Regions from separate parts of the Homo sapiens genome. Here regions 1 and 2 are each linked to region 3. The links are contacts of gene promoters, found by promoter capture Hi-C in blood cells and fetal thymus (Javierre and others, 2016). All regions are on one chromosome and are shown on one strand. Each heading gives the region's core, a stretch centred on a gene start or on the middle of the fragment in contact. The rest is flanking DNA. Distances are from core to core; before and after follow the strand shown. Region 1 has its middle 11 kb from the start of ZNF439. Region 2 overlaps ZNF709 (zinc finger protein 709). Region 3 holds the start of ZNF625-ZNF20 (ZNF625-ZNF20 readthrough (NMD candidate)).

What was found. The method cuts DNA at HindIII sites, captures the fragments that hold promoters and counts their contacts. A CHiCAGO score of 5 or more calls a contact.
Region 1: a contact is called between a fragment that was not itself captured here and the fragment with the promoter of ZNF625-ZNF20 in region 3, in 2 of 17 cell types (fetal thymus and M2 macrophages). The highest score is 5.6, in fetal thymus.
Region 2: a fragment that was not itself captured here is called in contact with the fragment with the promoter of ZNF625-ZNF20 in region 3 in 1 of 17 cell types (erythroblasts); the score reaches 6.6 in erythroblasts.

Annotation. Positions count from the first base shown.
Region 1 is chr19:11,835,782-11,839,831 of GRCh38, forward strand. It overlaps the pseudogene VN2R13P. Among named protein-coding and RNA genes, the nearest start is that of ZNF439, 11 kb to the right of the region's middle. The HindIII fragment of the contact is 1,799 bases long and covers 1,766-3,564 here.
Region 2 is chr19:12,475,364-12,479,465 of GRCh38, forward strand. The region is part of intron 1 of ZNF709 (zinc finger protein 709); the gene reads right to left. Among named protein-coding and RNA genes, the nearest start is that of ZNF709, 7.4 kb to the right of the region's middle. The HindIII fragment of the contact is 6,195 bases long and covers 1-4,102 here.
Region 3 is chr19:12,155,006-12,158,578 of GRCh38, forward strand. It overlaps ZNF625-ZNF20 (ZNF625-ZNF20 readthrough (NMD candidate)), which reads right to left and starts at 1,726. Exons shown (of 8, transcript NR_037802.1): 1 at 1,551-1,726. ZNF625 (zinc finger protein 625) reads right to left here and starts at 1,729. Exons shown (of 4, transcript NM_145233.4): 1 at 1,551-1,729. The coding sequence starts at 1,553. RefSeq lists a silencer at 1,246-1,415 and enhancers at 1,392-2,083, 1,646-1,755. The HindIII fragment of the contact is 6,672 bases long and covers 1-3,520 here.

The DNA of each region.
Region 1 (4,050 bases), core at 1,415-3,914, 320 kb before region 3:
CATAGAGCAATTCAGTCACTTCCTTTAAGGTTCCAATGAAGCTGCTCTTTAGGAACGCTTATTTCAAACTCCCTAAGGTCAAAATCCAGGCACCACAAGATGCAGCATCAGCCACTGACCAAACCCTGTCTGTGTGTGGAGATGACACACCCAGTCCCAGATAATGTATCCACACCAGTGAAGGGTGGAGTCGTTGATTGTCAGATCACACAAAGTGACTCAGAGCAGGGAAGACAGGGCAGTGAAACCTGATCAGGCACAGTGGCTCACACCTGTAATCCCACCACTTTGCTAGTCCAAAGCGGGTGGATCACTTGAGGTCAGGAGTTCAAGACAAGCCTGGTCAACATGGTGAAACCCTGTCTCTACTAAAAATACAAAAACTAGCTGGGCATCGTGGTGTGTGCCTGTAATCCCAGCTAATCAGGATGCTGAGGCAGGAGAATGGCTTGAGCCTGGAGACAGAGGTTACAGTGAACTGAGATCACACCATTGCACTCTCCAGCCTAGTCGACACAGCGAGACTCTGTCTCCAGAAGAAAAAAAGAAAGAGTTGGATGCACCTGAATCCAACCCCTGCCTCATCCTTCTCCCTTGAAGGCCAAATACACCCTGATACTTTTCACCAAAGAGTAGAAACAACACCATTCACTTGACCCCAAATGTGACTTTCCACAGGATGCAAACACAGTGTTGGAATGGCCAATGACAATGACAATGAAAATGCAGGCTGAGGGTGATGAACAGGACACACTGGAGAGCCTGACATCGGCCTAGACTATGGGGGTGTCTTGATGCTTCACAAAGAGCCCAAGGAGCACCCCAAAGAGGACACTGGAGCACAGGCCCAAAGGGTGTTCACATGCCAGGAAGGCCACTAATTTTGAAAGTCAGGGACATTGGTGCCTGCTTGAGTCCTGATGCTTTATCTATAACATATGCTTTTCTGCATCTGGTTAGACAAGGAAATCTGAAATTTTTGTTTCAGCATTTAGAAATAAGTTATTTAAGCAATCCTCACACTCATGGTTTATTCTGGAACTACCTTCAGACACACAGCTACAGATAGGGTATATAATGAGTATTTCCAAGGCTACACTCTGTAGGAAAAAACTTCATGAAGTCAGTGGGACCCTCTCATGGGAGGGTTTTAAGACCCACAATCAAAAAGGTGGGGAAACATTAGAGTGGAAGGAGGGCAGCAGAAGGTCAAGGACTTTCCCGGAGGCCTAACATACCCAACATTATTACCCTAGATGAAAACCAAATACATATCCTAACACCACATACTCTCTTCAATGTTTAACAGACAAAATGAAATGTATTCAAAGCTAAGCTTCCAGAATTCCACTTTACGCTATTAATGATGTTTTAATATCCCTCAATGTGTTGATATTAGGACATTTTTAAATATGAATACCATTTTCTGGTTATATATGGAAAATATCTTGATTTCTGAGATACAAAAATGCTCATTTTTAGATATACATGGTCTTGCACTTTTTTTATAAAATAAGGTGAAAAGACAGGAAAAATTTTTTCAGATCATGGAACTTGGATTAATAGGAGAAGAGTCATACAAATTTATTTAACATGTATATATGGGAGCCTTCAGAATGAAGACCCACCCAACAATAAGACAAAAAAGCTTATATTACCATTCTGAGGCCAAGAAAGAATGCAGACTTGGCTGGCCAAAAAATCCCGGGTTTGGTGGGTAAGTCAGGTTTAATGGCAAGACAGATTAGGGAAGAGGAAAGGAAGAAGCTTACCTCCTGTGTAGCTAAGGAGACCTTGTTATGTAGATGAAGGCTCCCTCATAGAGAATAGGTGGGAAATGCTGCTTTTCAGACTTTTATTTAGACTTTTAAGTAATAGGGACAGGATTATGCTATGTTGCCCAGGCTGTTATCTAATTCTTTTTCTCAAGCAATCCTCCCAGCTCAGTCTCCGAAAGTGCTAGGATTACAAGCATGAGCCGCCATACCCAGACAGGGTTTGTTCCCTTGTAAAGAATTATTTGTTGCTGGACACAGTGGCTCACAGAGGCCAAGGAAGGAGGATCACTTGAGCCCAGGAGCTCAAGACCTGCCATGGCAACATGACAAAACCTCTTCTCTACAAAAAATACAAAAAATTAGCTGGATATGGTGGCACGTACCTGTACTCCCAGCTATCCAGGAGGCTGAGGCAGAAGGATAACCTGAGCCTGGGAGATTGATGCTGCAGTGAACTGTGATTGCAGCACTGCACTCCGGCCTGGGCCACAGAGTGAGAGCCCTTCTAAAAAAAAAAAAAATATATATATATATATATATATATTTGTTCACTTATTGCAGCTTCAGATTTTTAAAATTAATTGTAAATTGCATTTTCACTACAGCTGGAAAAATAAGAAAATTTTGCACAGAGCCAAGATAAAAATAGATGTCAGAAATAAATCATTAGTCTTATATAGCATTTGTTTCAAAAAAAAAATTTTTTTTTTTTGAGACAAAGTCTCGCTCTCTCACCCAGGCTGGAATGCATTGGTGTGATCTCGGGGCATTGCAACCTCTGCCTCCTGGGTTCAAGTGATTCTCCTGCCTCAGCCTCCTGAGTAGCTGGGATCACAGGCACGTGCCACCACACCTGGCTAATTTTTGTATTTTTAGTAGAGATGGGGTTTCACGATATTGGCCAAGCTGGTCTCGAACTCCTGGCCTTGTTATCCACAAGCCTTGGCCTCCCAAAGTGCTGGGATTACAGGCGTGAGCCACCGCACCCAGTCTCAAAATTCTTAATTTTTTTCTTCTTCAGATGTGGTGTAGTACATTTCTTAAGTCTGTCCTTTTTTGTGGATGATTTCTTTATTTCTTTTTCTTTCTTTCTTTCCTTTTTTTTTTTTTAAGATAGGGTCTGGCTTTGTTGCCCAGACTGGGATGAGGTAGCACAATCTCAGCTCACTGCAATCTCCATCTTCCAGGCACAAGCTATCCTCCCACCTCAGCCTCCGTAGTAGCTGAGACCACAGGCACACACCACTACACCCAAAGTGCTGGTATTACAAGTTTGAGCCACAGTGCATGGCCATTTTTGGATGATTTGTAACAGAGTTTCAGGGCATAGCGTTGAGAATGCTGATTGGGAAAAGAAATAGAGAAAATCTTTTATTACAGCTTGAGAAAATGAATAATCTTCCACAATAAAGTATAGTAGATAAATTGGTGAATTACAAAGATTCAGCAAAATACCAGTCCTCCTTTGCAGGTTGGGGAACTTGTAATGGTGGATAACTCTTCTTCTTCCTGTTATCTGTGGGGTAAGACCTGGCTGGCAACTGTTGTCATATGTTTGTGTTCACATATGATTAATGTGTAGTATGTGCTTTGTTATCATGGAAATAATAATGAAATAATATTGTGCACCTTAATAAGATAATAAGATTCAGAGAATATGATTAAATGCTGAGTTTATCTGAGCACATAGTTTGAGGATAGCCACTGGGGAAACAGATATCCTGAAGAGTGGGGTCAGTGCTCCAACACGGGGAATTTGAGTCTTCTCTTCTATAGGGCAAAATGAAGCTTAACAGGGTGACATTTTCCATACAAGGCCGGTGCACACATTTCAGTGATTTGATAGGTTGCAGCTACCAAATTTCAAGGATGATTGCTTTAACTTTTTTTTTTGGATGGAGTCTTGTTCGGTCGCCCAGGCTGGAGTGCAATGGCGCAATCTCAGCTCACTGCAACCTCCACCTCCCGGGTTCAAGCAATTCTCCTGCCTCAGACTCCTGAGTAGCTGGGATTACAGGCACGTGCCACCATGCCCGGCTAATTTTAGTATTTTTAGTAAAGACGGAGTTCACCATGTTGGTCAGGCTGGTCTCAAACTCCTGACCTCATGATCCGCCTGCCTCGGCCTCCCAAAGTGCTGGGATTACAGGTGTGAGCCACTGCAGCCGGCCTGCTTTAACTTTTTGTAAGGAGGGGTAGTGGTCTCAAAAGGATCCTACCTCTGGCACTTCTCTGTCTTTTCTAATCATTTACAGCCTAAGAACAAGGAAGA
Region 2 (4,102 bases), core at 654-3,153, 320 kb after region 3:
AGAGAAATTAAACAAAACCAAAGGTGTTTCTTTGAAAAGATCAATATATTTGATAAATGTATGGTTAAGCTAACTGAAAAACAGAGAACAGAAATTACTAATATCACAAATGTAAGTGGGAAAAATAAAAATGAAAAAGCTATGGGCAAAATCCAACATGCATTTATGATAAGAAACTGGAGATAGACTTTCCTCTTTTTGAGAAGCAGTATTTATAGGAAACCTGCAGCTAATATCATATTTAATAGTGAGAAAATAGATGCTTTCCTGGTAAGATGAGGAAATGGGCAAAGATGTCCCCTCTTACCACTCCTACTCAACAGATTGTACTCAAAGTGTAACTAATGAGAGGAGAGGGGAGGAGAGGAGAGAAGAGATATAGATTGGGAACAAAGAAATATCACTGTCTTTGTCGCATGTGACATGATTGTCTAAGTAGAAAATCTCAAAGAATCCACAACAAACTCCTCAAACTAGAGGTTGAGGATATAATCTTAATATACAAAAGTCAATTGCCTTCTTACAGACTCACATTAGTATAGTATAGACTCACTGAGTCATCTGATTTTCAACAAATGACCAACAGCAATTCAATGAAAAAAGATAGCCTTTTTCAACAAACAGTGTTGGAAAAACTGAACATCCACATGCAAAACACAATGAAAAAAACACAAATCTAGAAACAGACGTTACACCTTAAACAAAAACTGGCTCAAAATGGATCACAGAACTAAATGTAAAATCTAGGCCAGGAGCAGTGGCTCATGCCTGTAATCCCAGCACTCTGGGAGGCCATGGCAGGAGGATAGCTTGAAGTCAGGAGTTTGAGACCAGCCTGGGCAACTAAGTAGGACCCCATCTCTACAAAAAATACAAAAATTAGCCAGGTGTGGTGGTGCACGCTTGTAGTCCCACCTACTCAGGAGGCTGAAGTGGGAGGAGTGCTTGAGCCCAGGAGGTTGAGGCTGCAGTGAGCCAAGATTGCACTACTGCACTCTGGCCTGGGCAAGAGGGAGAACTTGCCTCAAAAAAAAAAAAAAAAGTAAAGTTATAGGATACTAAAAGTTAATGAAGAAAATCTAGGTGACCCTGGGTTTGGTGACAAATGTTTAGATATAAGCAAAATCCATACAAAATAAATCAGTAAGTTTGACTTCATTAAAATGCAAAAGCTCCTTCTCTATGAAAGCTCTGTGTTAAGAGAATGAAAAAGACTCTAGAGCCTTTTGCGGTAGGGGGACCCACTTAAGGTGGGCCAATTTGCAATTAACAGCATAAAGTGGTTAAGTAAAATTTATAAACAAGGAATATGTTGCCTCCAGAACATCAAAAGAACCTAGAAGATGCTGTGGGTAGTCAGAGGGACAATAGCTATTTCATAGTAGTGTCAGGGATGGAGCGGCCCTCCTTTTACCAAATGGTTTTTAGGAACTTAACCAAAACATAAAGGTCTCTTATTTTATATATGGGGCAATGGACTTTTTGTAAGCTCTATTTTTTTTTTCAGTATTTATGTGTCCTGAATGAATGCCAAAACAATGTCCTCAGACAAGGCTGTCATTAATGTAATATCATACCTGTGTTCTAGAGAAAGGTGGATGCAGTTCAGATTTTGCCTGCAAAGACTGTGCAACAGCAAGGCTGTTGAGGTTCCCTTGGGAAACTAGGTAAAGTTATATAATTAGCCTGTGAGATGGTGAAATCTGTGAGATCAGCTGGATGGTGTCAGTAATTTCCATGTTGGATATTGGTATAGGGGCTTAATGGGTGGGACCACAGCATTAAGGTTATGGTAATCCATTGTGGGTTGCCATTCATTCTCTCCAAGTTTAAGAAAGGCCAAACTGTACTTTTAAAACGAGAAGCACGGGGAATAATCACTTCCTCACTAAACAAGTTTTACATAATACTTTTCAACCCTTCAAGGCCCTGTTCAATTTATATTGAGCCATCATAACTAATTTAACTGGGGAGTAAGTTCCACAGGGTCTCATTCTGTCAAGCCAGTTTGTAAGTGCCAAAGATTTAATTTAAATTTCACTTATGACTCACTGGTTTAGAGTTTACCTGTTCATTCTGGCGTATTTTAGGACACTGGGTGCCATGAACATGGGGAATTTAGGCACAGTTATGATGGCTAAGATGAGACATACTTATTTGTCTTCTATTTTATATTCAGTAACTCCCTTAAGATTATCAGGGGATACCTTGCTTAAATTTTAGTGGGTCTCCCAGGTATAACCATAATTTGAGCCCTTGTATTGGCTAATCCTATAGTGTGTTAATTAATACATTACATAAGATGTTAAAATTAATACAGAACCTATGATATAGAGGCTCTTTTATCTTTTTTGCCGTCTAAATTCCTTTAGTCTATTTGGAATTTCCAATTGGGTCAAATTGTGGACCTCTTTTTCAGCATTTTTTTCTTTTGTTCCTTTCCTTCCTAACATGTTTGTTTTGTTTTTGTTTTTGTCCCTGGATATATTTTGACAGCAAAATCCTCTCTACAGGGGAGGGGTGTTCTTTTCCCTCCAGAGAGCCACAAATCACTATTATCAGGCTTAGGGGCCTGTCCCTCATGGTTGCTTTATAAAGTTTAAGCACCTGGGCCTTAAGCTGGCTTTGAATGAACCCTTTGCAATGCTGCAGAGGAAACATGAGTGTGCCCTATAATCCTGAGGGTCAGCATCCTTGCTGCAATAGAGCAACAGCAGCAACACTTAAGGGTCCTTGGGAGCCCTGTGCTATTAGGAGTGTGGACTCGGCCCACCATCTAACAGCTGCCTTTCCCCCTCTCTTTTGTCTCTTTTTCAAAAATGACTGCTCTGGCAGGTAGTCTTTCCCATGAGCACCTTGTATGCCAGGTCAGCAGCAGTCACAGCTTCACTCTAAAACACACAGATAAGTCCAGGCCAAGAAACACTACCCAGGACCACTTTAAGGAGTATCAAATCTCATATTCCTCTTCAAAAAAGCCAAGGAATTATCAAAACGGCCAACTCCAGTTGGCTAAACATAGAACCCAGACTTGGCAGGGCTCAACATGCAGCACAGAGTAGCACAACTCAAAGTAGTAGCTTCCCAGAAAGCAGCAGCTGAAAGTGCATGCTGGCCATCAGGCAACAGAGCAGGTAGCAATTCAGTGCAAGAGAAGACAGACCCATGGGGTGACAGTCAATGTCTGAACACCATGCTCATGGTAACAATTCCTGTGTCGTTCCAATGTTGACACTAATAACAGCGTGGAGAACAGACACCAAAGGGTATGAAAAGACTCACTACTGTGATCATTGAGGTCTTGGGGAAAGCAGGGCAGGCTGCCCAAGCAGGTGTGACATAGCTTCAGAGAGCAAAGAAAGCCTCCTGGCCTGGGTTTTTATTGTAGTTTGGGGGTGGGGCTACAAGAGAGTACCTGCTCAAGGGCAGGAGCTTCTGTGGTTTGAATTTCCTGCTCCCAGACTTTTTCAGCTTGCCCAGGTGTGCAGCACGAGGAGAAGAGAGAAGGGTGACGCTTATGATGTGCACAGCCAAAATCAAAACATGCAGAGTCCAACTACTCATTACAGAACCAACATGAGTATGAAAAACATGCATTTGCAATTGCTTATTTTTATAAAAAGAAACACTGACAGTATGCTTAAGAAATTATTAAAAGGCCAGGCACAGTGGTTTATACCTATAACACCAGTGCTTTGACAGGCTGAGGCAGGAGGATTGCCTGAGCCCAGGAGTTCAAGACTAGCCTGAGCAACATAGTAAGACTCCATCACTACAAAAAATTTAAAAATTAGCTGGGAGTGGCAGCACACACCTGTAGTCCCAGCTACTGAAGAGGCTGAGGTGGGAAGATCACTTGAGCCCAGGAGGTTGAGGCTGCAATGAGCTATCATCATGTCATTGTACTCCAGCCTGGGCAACAGAACAAGACCCCATCTCAAAAAAAATAAAAAATTATCAAAAGTGAGTATTTGGGGGGTGGCTAGAGCAAGTGCCCTGGCTGGACTGGACCAGAATATGCTGGCAGTGAGTCTTTTCAAGTTAGACTCAACTATTGTGGATTTTTTTCTAACTTCCACATGCATGATTTCTTTAAAATAAA
Region 3 (3,573 bases), core at 476-2,975:
ATTTGAGGTCAGGAGTTTGAGACCAGCTTGGCCAACATGGTGAAACCCCATCTCTACTAAAAATACAGAAATTAGCCGGGTATGGTGGCGTGCACCTGTAATTCCAGCTACTTGGGAGGCTGAGGCAGGAGAATTGCTTGAACCTAGGAGGCGGAGGTTGCCGTAAGCCGAGATTGCGCCACTGCACTCCAGCCTGGGCGAGAGTGAGGCTCCATCTCAAAAAAAAAAAAAAACCTGCAAAGAAACCCTTTGTACCAATAAATACTAAATTGCAAACAAGACCTAAGGCCATGCAAGGCAAGGGTAAAGTCACGCCTTAGAATTCATAAAATCTAGTGAAACATATCTGTTTTTTGGTGGGGATGGAATCACGTGGCAGGTAACAGACTCCCTTCACTTAAACATTCCTTCCTACCCCTTTCAAATTTTAGACACAACTTCACACTCTCAGCCAACTGCCAACTACAGAATCCCTCAACCACCTGTGCCTTCTAAGCCCCGCTTCTACGTGTCCTGCCCTGTCAGCCTTCCATGCCTTGATTGATCTTTTCCCTGCAATTCCTGTCTCGCTGAAATGAATAAAACCAAACTGCCATCGAACCTCCTGGGGACCACTTACTCGAGGCTACATGCGGTTGTTTCCCTTGGTCACGTTCTCTCATATTCGGCGTAGAACATAGTTCAAGTTATTTTGCAGAGTTTTGCTCTTTCCGTTATCAAACTGCAAGCCATGACTGGGTGTTTCTCATTCAGGAAACATTTCTCATTCATTTTTTTCAAACTCCTATTCTGAGAAGCAAAACTCTTTAATTTTTAAGAGGACTCAGTTTAGTTTGTTGCTGTTGTTTTTGTTTTGTTTTGTTTGAGACAGGGTCTCGCTCAGTCGCCCAGGCTGGAGTGCAGTGGCGCGATCTCGGCTCACTGCAGTCCCAATCTCCTCCCTCAAGCGATCCTCCCACCTCAGCCCCCCAGTAGCTGGGATTACAGGTGGGCGGCACCACGCCCGGCTCATTTTTTAAAAATTTATTTTTAATAGAAACTAGGGTCTCGGTATGTTGCCTAGGCTGGTCTCGAATTTCTGGGCTGAAGCAATCCCCCCGCCTCAACCTGCCAGGCGTGACCCACTGCGCCTGGCCTTCAATTTAGTTTTTCAGGAAAAAAGGGGGGACTGGGGACCCCGCAGCCCACCGCTCCTCCCACACGAACCACACACCCGAGGCAGGATTGCCTCCATGACCCTCCCGTGGTCTCCGCACAATCTGGGGAGACGCGGGACTACGGGCGCGGAGCTCCCCAGAGAGGGCTCCGGGGCCGGGGCCAGGGCCGGGGTCGCAGTCGCAGCGCAGAGACGGGACAGGACGCCTGGGGTCCCGGCTGCCGGCCCAACCCCACCCTGCGGCCGAAGGGACCGAGGGCCGAGCTACGCCAGGGGGACTCCGCTCTGCAGACCCGAAGTCGCTGCAGGAAGGCCTGGGTCCTGCTAGAGCCGGTTCGAGCCGGTTCCTCCCGGCCCCTCCCCCGTCTCGGGACCCCCGGCCCCGCACACTCACCATTTCCCGGCTTCCAGGTGTCCTGGCCTCCTCTCCACGGATCCCTCTAACAGTCCAGTCACAGTGCGGGCGATGGAGCGACAGAAGCTATGGCGGAGGCACCTGGTCCCTCTCGGGGCCGGAAAACCGAGATCCCGACCTCCCTTTGGTGCAAGACGCCTGGGAGTCAGGAAAGCGGGAATGCGGCCTCCCCTTCCCCGGATGGACAGTTGGCAGGACCCCGCCCCAGCGCCCCTGATTGGATGAGGCTCCAGTCCCCGTCCCATCGGTCCTGAGTGACAGCGGAAGCCCTGGGTAACAAGGCCCGGCAGAACCGAAATGACCTGTTCCAACCACAGATTATCTAAGCGAGCTCCCTCCCTGCGTCTTGCTCTTTGGGTATTTGCATTTCAGCCAAATTTGCTCCGAATTGCTAGAGGGGGTACCGTTGTCTTCCTCACTCAATGGGCTGTCCCTGCTCCTTTGTCTTGCACAGGAAATTCCAGACTCAGAGTCCAGTGGAGGTGAAGGAAATTAAAATATTTTACGCCAAAATATATTTATTTGACAGATTTTGAAATGGCTGTGGCTCGGCCGCAAAAAAAAGTGGACTGGCAAAGCTGTCTTTGGAGGGGGGGAATTTGCATCTGCAGAGAATCTCCATTGATGAAACCATGCCCTCTCCCCCTTTATTTCTTTCCCTTTATCCAAGCTAGAAGAGATTGTGACCTGAACACAGGCAGGGTGCGGTGGTTCACGCCTGTAATCCTAGCACTTTGGGAGGCCAAGACTGGAGGATCCCTTAAAGTAAAGAGTTAAAGACCAACTTGGTCAACACAAGAATACCCCTGTTTTGTTGTTTTTTTTTTTTAATTTTTATTTATTAAACTTTAAGTTCTAGGGTACATGCGCACAATGTGCAGGTTTGTTACATATGTATACATGCGCCATGTTGGTGTGCTGTACCCATTAACTCGTCATTTACATTAGGTATATCTCCTAATGTTATCCCTCCCACATCCCCCCACCCTAGACCCCTGTTTTTATTATTTAAAAATCTTTACGGCCGGGAGCGGTGGCTCACGCCTATAATCCCAGCACTTTGGGAGGCCGACGCGGGCGGATCACGAGGTCAGGAAATCAAGACCATCCTGGCTAACACGGAGAAGCCCCGTCTCTACTAAAAATACAAAAAATTAGTCGGGTGCGGTGGCGGGCGCCTATAGTCCCAGCTACTCGGGAGGCTGAGGCAGGAGAATGGCGTGAACCCGGGAGGCGGAGCTTGCAGTGAGCCGAGATTGCGCCACTGCACTCCAGCCTGGGCGACAGGGCTAGACTGTCTCAAAAAAAAAAAAGAAAGAAAAAGAAAAAGAAAATCTGTGAAGGTCAGAATTAGAGCAAGACCCATTTGGGATGCCTCCTGGAGAAAGGGTTTATGAATTTTTATTTATTATTTTATTTTATTGTATTTATTATCATTTTTTTTGAGACGGAGTCTCGCTCTGTCGTCCGGGCTGGAGTGCAGTGGCGCAATCTCGGCTCACTGCAAGCTCCGCCTCCCGCCCGGGTTCATGCCATTCTCCTGCCTCAACCTCCCAAGTAGCTGGGACTACAGGCGCCTGCCACCACGCCCGGCTAATTTTTTGTATTTTTAGTAGAGACGGGGTTTCACCGTGTTAGCCAGGATTGTCTCGATCTCCTGACCTCGTGATCCGTCCGCCTCGGCTTCCCAAAGTGCTGGGATTACAGGCGTGAGCCACCGCGCCCTGCGGGTTTATGAATTTAACAGTAAATTTAGCTTAAACTGACTCAAGTCGAGAGCTTCCTGTTGGTGAAAATGAAGGTCTTAAAGGAGAGAATAATTTCTAAACTGAGGAGGGGACAGAAGGGCATTTCAAACTCCCAGATAAATCCTTAATTTTCTCTGCCTCATCATCTGGGACTGACCCGCCCTGGGGGGCTCCATTTCAGCAGTCACAGTTTGGCTTCCAAGCTTGGAAATATCATTTACCTTCTGACAGAGGGTTTTCCTTGTGAACTGTGC